3 separate regions of the Homo sapiens genome follow, and regions 1 and 3 are each linked to region 2. The links are contacts of gene promoters, found by promoter capture Hi-C in human tissues and cell types (Jung and others, 2019). All regions are on one chromosome and are shown on one strand. The core of a region is centred on a gene start or on the middle of the fragment in contact, and the rest is flanking DNA. Distances in the headings are between cores, read along the strand shown.

Region 1 (3,991 bases), core at 457-2,956, 220 kb after region 2:
ACAAGAGCGAAACTCTGTCTCAAAAAAAAAAAAGAAAAAAAAAGGTTGGGGCAGAGAAGGGAATACGGGAAAATAAAGGATAAAGGCAGCTGCTTCCCTGATAATGAAGTAATTTGCTCCCAAGTCACCCTCATCTGTATCAATCAAGCTTGGCCCCTATGGCCTGGAAGCTGCCCTAGAGACTGGTACAAAACCTCCTGAGAAGAATGGTGTGCCTACTATGTCTCCTATACTCTATCCCTTCATGAAGCTACGCGAATTTAATGCAGGGTTAAAGTACATTGCATACCATGAATTTGATTATCAATCCAAACCTAAGACCATTCTTTGTGGCTGTGCATTGTTTTAACAGCTACAGGCTAACACTTAGTCTTTCCCTGTACTATTTTACAGTTTTAGCTGTCTTCATCATAATTATTACCAGTGTCATTATTTCCTGTCTCTATGCATCATTTCCTAAAGAATCTTGGATCTTTGAGAATAAGGACAGTGAATTTAACAACTCTATTTGGCTAGCTCCCAGAATCTCACACAGTCCTGTGCCCAGAAACCAATAAATTAAATTTCTGGTATAGCAAAGATCACAGGGGTTGGGGGAGAGGGATATGCAACATCAGAACAAGGGGGTGAACTCTATGAGGCTCTTCATCCAAAACATAACCCCATTTCGTAGAGTTGGAAAGTGTGTTCTTTTATCATTGGGTAGTTTTCTAGGAGAAAAAAACAGTCAAGAAGGCATCACAGAAAATTCATGGTTTGAGATCAGAGAAATCTGGATTTAATTCCTGACTCTACCATTTGGCCATCCACGTGTCCCTGTGCATAAATCACGTAATCCCTCTAAGCCAGATGATCTCATCTCGAAAATGGGGATGTCACCACCCATCTCCTACAGCTGTTAATGATTTAAACACAGGACTGAAATATTTATGGATTAAATGGTATGATGCCTTGGATTTTCTTTAATCCAGTGGGAATGGAGATGAAATAAAATTGGCCATGAGTTGATAACTGCTGAAGTGGGATGATGGATACAGAAGAGTTAACTCTTTTTCTACTTTTGCATCTTTGTTTTCTAAAACAAAATGTGAAAAAGAGGTCCAATGTACAAGATCAGACTATTAGATACTATTAAAGTGTTATAACTATTTGTGCAAATGTTGATGTAGGGAACTTTAATAGTGCATTTTAGGATCTTAATAACCCAAGGTTTTTATAAAAAGTTACCATTATATTTTAGAATACTCTGAATTAAAATTAAACTTGGTCATGTTTTTGTATAAGCTCAAAAAATAGAAAGACTAAGTGCAAAAACCATTATAATAAGCCTAGAACAATGGCTAACACAAGGCATAAACCACTTAAATGTTAATCACTTCCTCCCTTCCCAAGAAAGACAGATGAGCCCATTCTCTGAGAAATGAGCCAGCATTTCAGAAAAGAGAAGGGCGGGCCCAACTCACCAGATATCTAGGCTTCTCTTCCCAGGGCCAGGCAGAATCCTTGGCAGGCAGAGCTGGGGAAAGAAAGAAGCAACCTTGAGAAGCCAGCCCTACCAGGCCCATCATGAGGATCCCCAAGAGCCCTCTGAGCCTTGGCTGTGGCCACCTGAGCCTTCTCAGCTGACCCAGACCCTGAGCTCCTCTCACCTCCTGCCTTATGCTTGAGTCAACTTCTCTATGCTCTGCACCACTTCCCTATTACATTTTTACAGAAACACTGATCTTAATTAAATGTAGTAAGGTAAACTCTAAGCACTCATCATCTTTCTACCCTAAAAATTAGCAAAACTGTTGAGACAAGGCATCATTTCCCCCCATGTGTTATGTGACTCTAGTTACATGTTTTTTTTTAATTTATGAAAATGGACCGAGCACAGTGGCACACGCCTATAATACCAGAACTTTGGGAGGCCGAGGCAGGCAGATGACTTGAGGTCAGGAGTTTGAGGCCAGTCTGACCAACATGACAAAGAAACCCCAACTCCACTAAAAATAAAAAAATTAGCCAGGCATGGTAGTGCACGCCTATAATCCCAGCTACTCAGGAGGCTGTGGCAGGAGAATCGCTTGAACCCAGGGGGCGAAGGTTGCAGTGAGCAGAGATCACGCCACTGCACTCCAGCTTGGGCAACAGCAAAACTCCATCTCGAAAATAGTTTATGAAAATGTTAGGCCAGGCGCGGTGGCTCACGCCTGTAATCCTAGCACTTTGGGAGGCCGAGGCAGGCCGATCACAAGGTCAGGAGATCGAGACCATCCTGACTAACACAGTGAAACCCCATCTCTACTGAAAATACAAAAAATTAGCTGGGTGTGGTGGCGGGCACCTGTAGTCCCAGCTACTCAGGAGGCTGAGGCAGGAGAATGGCATGAACCCGGGAGGCAGAGCTTGCAGTGTGCCGAGATCGCACCACTGCACTCCGGCCTGGGCGACAGAGCGAGACTCCGTCTCAAGAAAAAAAAAAGAAAATGTTAAACACAGAAACAGAAGTCTGTGATTTAATGAAAATATTTTTTAAAAATGTGTCAGGCCGGTTTCAGTGGCTCACGCCTGTAATCCTAACACTTTGGGAGGCTGAGGTGGGAGGATCACTTGAATCCACGGCTTCAAGACCAGCCTGGGTGACAATGAGACCCACATCTCTAATAATAAAAATAATAATTATTATATTGTTTTAAAAACTTGTCAATGTTATTCCTTATTTTACAAAAGAGCATGAGTAAAAGGAGAAAAAAGTATTAAAGACCATTACAACAGCATTTCTAAAGCGCAGCTTGTCAGACTCTCATTCCTCTTCAAATTATTGTGGAACTGATTGATTGATTGATTGATTGAGATAGGGTCTCACTATTGCCCAGGCTGGAATGCAGTGGCACAATCTCTGCTCATTACAACCTCCACCTCCTGGGCTCAAGTGATCCTCCCACCTCAACTTCCCTGGGATTACAGGCATGCACCACCATGCCCAGCTAATTTTTGTATTTTTTGTAGAGATGGGGGTTTCACCATGCTGGCTAGGCTGGTCTCGAACTCCCGACCTTAAGTGATCTGCCCACATTGGCCTCTCAAAGTGCTGGGATTATAGGCATGACCCACGACGCCTGGCCTATTGTGGAATTTTAAAAGGTAAGATTTTAACATCTCTGGAGGGAAGCTCAAGCTTTCCCTGCCATATCTGTTTTTTTTTTTTTGAGACAGAGTCTCACTCTGTCACCCAGGCTGAAGGTCAATGGCACGATCTCAGCTCACTGCAACCTCCGCCTCCTGGGTTCAAGCAATTCTCCTGCATCAGCCTCCCAAGTAGCTGGGATTACAGGCACCTGCCACCATGCCTGGCTAATTTTCGTATTTTTGGTAGAGACAGGGTTTCACCATGTTGGCCAGGCTGGTCTCGAACTCCTGACCTCAGGTGATCTGCCTGCCTCGGCCTCCCAAATGCTGGGATTACAGGCGTGAGCCACCGCGCCCAGCCTTCTCTTCCATATCTTTGCTGAGGGGAAAGAAGAATGTTTTTCTGATCCTTGGGTGTCACTGATTCTGAAAGTTCAGAAAAGGAACTGGGATGTCATATTTCTAACCTGTGACCTGTGCCTTTGTAGAAGGGACAGAGTCTGGGGAAGGGAGTGCCTCTCAGGGGGACGAGGGTCTTAGCAGCAGTCTGAAGCTTCCTCCTTGACACCCTTTATTCCAGGCATATGTGTTTATAAGATACATAGAAGCTGGCCAGGCTCTGCACGGTGCCTCATGCCTGTAATCCCAGCACGTTAGGTGGCCGAGGTGGGCTGATTGCTTGAGCCCAGAAGTTCAAGATCAACCTGGGCAATGGTGAACCCCATCTCTACAAAAAATAAAAAAATTAGCCGGGCGTGGTGGTGTACACCTGTAGCCCCAGCTACTTGGGAGGCTGAAGTGGCAGGATCATTTGAGCCCCAGAGGCAAAGGTTGCAATGAAGTGAGAGATCACACCATTATACTCCAGCCTCAGTGA
Region 2 (2,700 bases), core at 1-2,500:
GGAGGAAGATCCTTGGTACCCCTGCTCTCTCCAAGGCTGGGACTAGTGTTCCTGGTTGTGGCCAGGTGTGCAGTGGTTGTGACAGCAGATGGTCTTGGCTTGGTCCTAGCAGAGGCTGTGACCCCATACATGGGCCTGATGGTGCCGAAAGGCCTGGCGTGAGCATCCACCCACCGCAGCAGGGCCTGTGGTCTCCACTGACAGATGCTGAGCAGGGCCAGGACATCACCCTCAGCCGTGTGCGAGTCTGGAGGGGACTGCCCATACAGGCGAGTGTAGATGCTGCCTAGGCTATAGCTCTTCCTTGGGCCGTGTTCTGAGGGGCTGCTTGCTCGCTCCAGGGCCTTCAGCGCAGTGATGCTATCCACACAGAAGGCACCATCCAGAGCACTGGTGAGGCCCAGCATAGCCAGCTCTGCTTGGAGCAGGGGGAAGTCGTAGCGGTCACCATTGTGTGCCACCAGGCACCAGGGCTGTGGCTGGCGCCGCAGGAAGGCTAGGAGCAGGTTGGCCAGGTTGTCATCAAAACATTGACGCCCATGCGCTGCCAGCACAGCTGTGCTCAGACCTGTGATCTCGCTGGCTGCAGGGCTGCAGGCCTTCCCCGGAGCCACACACAGGGAGAGCTTGTCTACCACACGCGGTGGTGGAGGAACTGTGGGAGGTGGCCCCTGAGAGGTGGGGGGGCTCTCCAGGGCACATCTGTGGACAGCCAGCAGGCACAGCTCCGTGACCTTGGGCTGGGAGAAGGGCAAGCCAGTGGCCTCCATGTCGAAAAAGATGAGGGTCTGCATGGGCCCCGGGGGCAGGGCCTGCGAGCCCATGGTTGGGTACGTACCTGCTGCTGAGCCTGGAGAGGAGCATGGGGTGGGTGTGTGAGTGCCCAGTGTTAAGATCCGAAGGGGAGGGAGTGGGGTAGGGGGTGGGCAGAAGCACATCTCAGGCCTTCCCTGCACAATCCTGCCCTGTCTGCGAGCTCCAGGGCCCATTTTCAGGCAGGAAGTTGGAGAGGGTGAGGTGGTTTCCTTAGTGGGACCAGCACATTCGACTGTCTGAGAGGGTCTCCCTCTTCACATGACTCGGCCCCTCCCCTAGTGCCCCCTTAGTCTGGGGTGGGGGAACCCATGGCCCTCCTGCCCTGCGCCATCCCATTGTGGGGGCCACACTCACCGTAGCAGGCAGGCAGGCAGGCAGTAGTGACTCGGCTGCACACTCTCCCGCGGCTCTCGCTGGCAGCAGTGGCGGGAAGTGAAACTTGGCGTGGGCCCGCCTACAGGCCCACGTGAGCCAGGCCCGCCCTGCTCGTCAGCCTGCCTGGTCTGTCCCTCTCACCACCATCCGTTCCCCCCCACACCCACTCCCCTGCTCCCGGGGGACCCCAGAGGCCTTCCAAGATCCACAGCTGTGGCCTGCTGGTGGCACAATGCACCGGGGCCATCATACCAGTGACAGGCAGCTGGAAGGACCAGGGCAGTGGTGCCAGACCAGCTCCCGGTCTTACACACTGCTGGGAGCCCCTGCTGCGGCCCTTTCATGCCCACCTGTGGGTCCCAGTTTCCCAGGCTTTCCTGGTTTAGGCCTGGGCCAAGAGCCACCTCCTTCCCTGCCACACAATGGTTTCTTCCCATGGCCCCAGCCCAAAGCAATGACTCAGGACAATTCCACAGGCAGGGCAGGGCTCCTTCCTCAAGGCAGATCAGTTACCATGGGGACGGGCTCAGCAACAGCCAGGGACAGGAAGAAGGATCCCAGCCACTCAGGGTCCGGGTCCTGCTCCACCCCTCCCACTCCGCCAAACAGATCAGACTCAGGAAACAAGGCCAGCCAGTTCTCTGGGCAGTTCCTGCTGGTCACTGCTTTAATCAGTTGATGTGGTAAGGAAAGGAGTGGTGCTGGTGCCACCATGTGGCTGGACACTCAGGGCCTCAGCCACACTCCACCTCGGGGTCTTCCACATCGGTTTCCGCGGCACAGAGGTCATCCAGGGCTGCCTCTGAGACAAAAAGGAGAGGTTCCTGGTGAGGGCCCAAAGGTGCCAGGGCCTAGGGCAGGTCCCACCTCTCCTCCCCCAACGTCCGCAGGAACTAACCAGTCCCTTCCACACCCAGGCCCTGCTCCCTCAGCTACTGCAAACAAAGTGATACAAAGGCAATTCAGACACGGCTATTTCTGGAAAAACCGTGGCTCTGCCAGGCACACTCAACAGATAGATGCAAAAGGCATCCCAATATGCTTGGAGAAGAACTGAGGCAGGAAGATAAAAGAAAATGGCCCCAGTGCTGGAACAGGCTGCAGTGGGCGGGGGCCTGCTGAGGGGACACCCAGGAATCTGACTTGTTGGGGAACCTCTGGAAGAAGCCATGGGGGCTGGGCAGGATGGCCTCTGGCAGGCTTACCTTCACAGTCCGTCACATCAGGAAGCCCTCGGATGAGCATGCTGACCCCCGGCATCACCTGGTCAAACTGATGCAGGACCTCCACGCAGTGCATCATGAAGAGCTTGTCCTTCTGCGATAGGCCGTGCAGCAGCAGCACCGTGTCCCGCAGACAGCGCACTGTCCGCCTCTGCTGGTCGGTCCTTGGGGGTCCCCCTGCCCTCCGCACTGTCAGCCACTGTCTGTGCAACATCACCGTGAGCGCTCTGACCACCTGAGAGAGGGGGGGTGCAGACTGAGGCCTGGTGCCACCATGGCCTGCACC
Region 3 (4,089 bases), core at 1,183-3,682, 190 kb after region 2:
GGGGTGTACTATGGGAGGGACGATGCAGACATGTTGCGGTGGATCCTTGATGTTACTAGCCCAGCAAAAGCGACCTGGTGAATTAGGAGCTTGGAGTTTTTCCGGGGAGGGGGACTTAGGCTGGGCCTGAGGGGAAGGGTTGGGTGTATTAGGAGGGGGACTAGGGGTATTAGGTGGAGGATGGTCTAGGGGATCCCATGTGCTGTTCTCTTTGCCAGGATCCCCCCTTCTCTCACTGGTTCTACAGTAGGGGCAGGTGCATAAGGGAAAAGGGAGGACAGGTCTTTGCTTCCAACAAAGAGCATAGTTCAGTTCTTCTTGAGAAACTGGGCTTTTATTACTTACATGTTGAATTAAAAGTTGATATAGTATATCCTTAGTCGACCCAAACTTTGGCCAGAAGATTGAGGGACTGAGGATAGGTCTTTGAGACCAAATAGAACAGCAATATTTTATCATTTGTTCCTTTGTCTTATGTTTAGTTCTCTTGTTATCTTTCCAACCTTTTAGCCTGAGACCTAAGGGGCTATCAGGTGGTATATCTTTGAGACCTTGGGGACTATCAGTGGTATATCTTTGTTGCTAACTTTATCTTTTTTGCTTGTATTATTTACCATACTGGGTCCTGGCTAGGCTCAATCCCTCGTATTAGGAATCTCTTGCCTAGTGGGGGCTTTCTGTGGCTCAACCCCTCATATTAGGGATCTCCTGCCTATTTGGGGGGTTCCTTCTGGCTCAACCCCTCGTATTAGGGGTCTCTTGCCTGTCCTTCACTGGAAGCTTTGCTAAGGCACAATTCGCCTATCCTTTAGCTCCACCTGCTGGAGATTCCTTGCACCCTTCTTTCACTGCAACCTTCACGCTCTGGCCGCTTCCCTTGAGGGAATGTTCCAGGTCACTTTTAGCATTCATGGGGGGTCAGTATAAACCCCTGACGGGACCCCCAAAGGGCCGCCCTAAGCCATATGAGATGACCACGGAACTGCAGATTGGTCTCACTCCGCACAGCAGTAGTGCTTGTTACCATTCATGCACTTTCAACCTCCAGAATGCCCCGACCCCCGCAAAACCACTAAAGAAGTAATTTGTTGCCCCTGCGACGTTTTCTACCTTGGTCTGTGCAGTTTACCTGGTCGCCGCAGTATTGCAAGTCTCTCTTCCCCGCGTTGCTGAGAGTCCAGGTTTATTCGTCACAACAGGTGGGTCTCGATCTCCCATCCCTGAGGGCCACCGCAACAGGGCAGTGGGAAGTGTCTCCCCTGGGTAGGGTGACTGAAGACCCCTTCCCGAAGGAGAATGGGAATCCCAGACGAGCCCCCAGAATTGTTGGATATAAAATGCTCTAGGATGAAATGCTCGGTGCCATGAAGTAAAACCAGCACTCAGGCAAAAGTTTAATTTCTCTCAGCAAGGTAATTTACTTCTGCGGAACGGTGCCACTTGTGTCAATCAAGATCACAAGAGCACAGAGAACAAAGGAGACCAGGGGATTTTTATCCTTAACACAGTCCCTATCTCTGTGTCACTCCCCCCATGGGCTGGGGTCAGACTGCACAATCTGAGCTGACCCAATTGGCCACTTGTACATATTTTCCTAACTATAGAAGGGGAGGGGGACATGAGTTACAGAGGTGGAGTGTGAGGCGTGCAGTTTCGGGGGAACAATGGGTACAGGTAACCAAGGGAACAGATGTGAATTATTGATTAAAGCTGACGAGAATGGGGTAGGCTGTTTACAGTAACTAGGGGTAAGGAAGAACAAGAAAGTTGAATTTGAGAACAAGGATAAGGAAGTTAGCAGGCTAAACCCTTTGAAGAGAGACTCAGATTTACTGCAGCTTACAATCTCTTCCTATGACTGCCTGGACCTGACAGTCCTCTTGCCGGACCAGATCTGTGTGGTATCTCGACAGTGCCTACATGGATTTTAATAGAAAATGAACACTTTTTTCTCCCTCTCATGTTTAAAGTAGATGTATGATCACTAATTTTTCCACTTTCATTTTTCTATGGGAGGAGTAACTTCGAGGTCTTGTGGAATGATGGTGTCCCACCCTTCCCCTGCCCAGCAACCCCTAAACACACACACATACACACACTTTCTATGGCTTTTAGCTCAGGCCATGGGAAAGGGGCAGCAATAGTGAGAGGTGACAACGTGTTAGCAGCCCTCGCTCACTCTCAGCGCCTCCCCGGCCTCAGCGTCCGCTCTGGCCACGCTTGAGGAGCCCTTTAGCCAGCCGCTGCACTGTGGGAGCCCCTCTCTGGGTTGGTCGAGGCCGGAGCCAGCTCCCTTGGCTGGCAGAGAGGTGTGGAGGGAGAGGCGCAGGTGGGAACCAGGGCTGCGCATGGGGCTCGCAGGCCAGCATGAGTTCCGGGTGGGCGCAGGCTCGGGGGCCCCCACACTCGGAGCGGCCGGCCGGCACCACAGGCCCCAGGCATTAAGGGGCTTAGCACCCGGGCCAGCAGCTGCAGAGGGTGCACCGGGTCCCCCAGCACTGACAGCCTGCCCACGCCGCACTTGAATTCTCACCGGGCCTCAGCCGCCTCCCCATGAGGCAGGGCTTGGGACCTGCGGCCTGCCATGCCCAAGCCACCCCCGACCGCCATGGGCTCGCATGCAGCCCGAGACTCCCCGACAGGCGCTGCCCGTCCCATCGACCGCCCAAGGGCTGAGGTGTGCAGGTGTGAGGCACAGGACTAGCAGGCAGCTCCACCCACAGCCCCAGTGCGGGATCCACTAGGGGAAGTCAGCTGGGCTCCTGAGTTGGGTGGGGTCTTGGAGAACTTTTGTCTAGCTGGAGGATTGTATATGCACCAAGCAGCACTCTCTGTCTAGCTCGGGGTTTGTGGATGCACCAATCAGCACTCTGTATCTAACTAACCTGGTGGGGACTTGGAAAACTTTTATGTCTAGCTAGAGGATTGTAAATGCACCAATCAGCACTCTGTGTCTAGCTCAAGGTTTGTAAACGCACCAATCAGTGCTCTGTGTCTAGCTAATCTAGCGGGGACTTGGAGAACTTGTGTCTAGCTAAAGGATTGTAAACGCACCAATCAGCACTGTGTCTAGCTAAAGGTTTGTAAACGCGTGTCTAGCTAATCTAGTGGGGACTTGGAAAATTTTTGTCTAGCTAGAGGCTTGTAAATGCACCAATCAGCACTCTGTGTCTAGCTCAGGGATTGTAAATGCACCAATCAGCACCCTGTCAAAACGGACCAATATGCTCTCTGTAAAATGGACCAATCAGCAGGATGTGGGTGGGGCCGGATAAGGGGATAAAAGCAGGCTACCCGAGCCAGCAGCGGCAAGCCACTCAGGTCCCCTTCCATGCTGTGGAAGCTTTGTTTTTTCACTCTTCACAATAAATCTTCCTGCTGGTCACTCTTTGGGTCCGCGCCGCCTTTAAGAGCTGTAACACTAACCGCAAAGGTCCGCAGCTTCACTCCTGAAACCAGCAAGACCACGAACCCACCGGAAGGAACTAACAACTCCAGATGCGCTGCCTTTAAGAGCCGTAACACTGCTAAGGTCTGCAGCTTCACTCCTAAGCGAGACCACAAACCCACCAGAAGTTAGAAACTCTGGACACGTCCGAACATCAGAAGGAACAAACTCCAGACACACCATGTTTAAGAATTGTAACACTCACCGTGAGGGTCCACGGCTTCATTCTTGAAGTCAGCAAGACCAAGAACCCACCAATTCCAGACACATTAGGGTGGTAGGCCAGGCATGGGGGAGATCCTACATTCCAGGTACCCCTAGCCCTTCCCCTAAGCAGGCTAACCTTGGGGATTCCCTGGAGATCAACCACTTCCAGTGAGAGGGAGTGGACAAAAGCCTCTGGACCAGCCATTCCTTCTCTCTCTCCAAGTCCTTTTTCCTCTCTAGCATCAAAACCAAGCCTAAGTATTTTGAGGTTACATGAACATCTCTCCCCTTCTTTTCTGTGGCAGAGTCCCTTAGCAAATAGAGGCACTGGGGCCTGAGTGGATAGCTCTCCAAGGTACACTCATTGACACAGGGTATCAGGTAGGGCTAGCCCCAGCCCAAGGGAGTAAGGCAAACTGTCAGAACCTGGGCCA

The links. The method cuts DNA at HindIII sites, captures the fragments that hold promoters and counts their contacts. A contact is called where the count stands out against the background at its distance.
Region 1: a contact is called between a fragment that was not itself captured here and the fragment with the promoter of TREX1 in region 2, in 1 of the 25 tissues and cell types used here (pancreas).
Region 3: a fragment that was not itself captured here is called in contact with the fragment with the promoter of TREX1 in region 2 in 5 of the 25 tissues and cell types used here (IMR-90 fibroblasts, hippocampus, lymphoblastoid cells and 2 more).

What each region holds. Positions count from the first base shown.
Region 1 is chr3:48,245,150-48,249,140 of GRCh38, reverse strand. It overlaps ZNF589 (zinc finger protein 589), which reads right to left. Exons shown (of 4, transcript NM_016089.3): 2 at 1,464-1,516. Among named protein-coding and RNA genes, the nearest start is that of ZNF589, 6.0 kb to the right of the region's middle. The HindIII fragment of the contact is 4,289 bases long and covers 1-3,850 here.
Region 2 is chr3:48,464,780-48,467,479 of GRCh38, reverse strand. TREX1 (three prime repair exonuclease 1) reads right to left here and starts at 1,250. Exons shown (of 2, transcript NM_033629.6): 1 at 1,171-1,250; 2 at 1-850. The coding sequence starts at 824. It overlaps ATRIP (ATR interacting protein), which reads right to left. Exons shown (of 13, transcript NM_130384.3): 12 at 2,397-2,649; 13 at 1-1,993. The coding sequence ends at 1,926. ATRIP-TREX1 (ATRIP-TREX1 readthrough) reads right to left here. Exons shown (of 15, transcript NR_153405.1): 13 at 2,397-2,649; 14 at 1,171-1,993; 15 at 1-850. RefSeq lists enhancers at 1-440, 655-854, 441-1,322, 1,935-2,024. The HindIII fragment of the contact is 7,289 bases long and covers 1-2,700 here.
Region 3 is chr3:48,270,534-48,274,622 of GRCh38, reverse strand. It overlaps ZNF589 (zinc finger protein 589), which reads right to left. Exons shown (of 4, transcript NM_016089.3): 4 at 3,633-4,089. Among named protein-coding and RNA genes, the nearest start is that of NME6, 29 kb to the left of the region's middle. The HindIII fragment of the contact is 5,059 bases long and covers 1-4,089 here.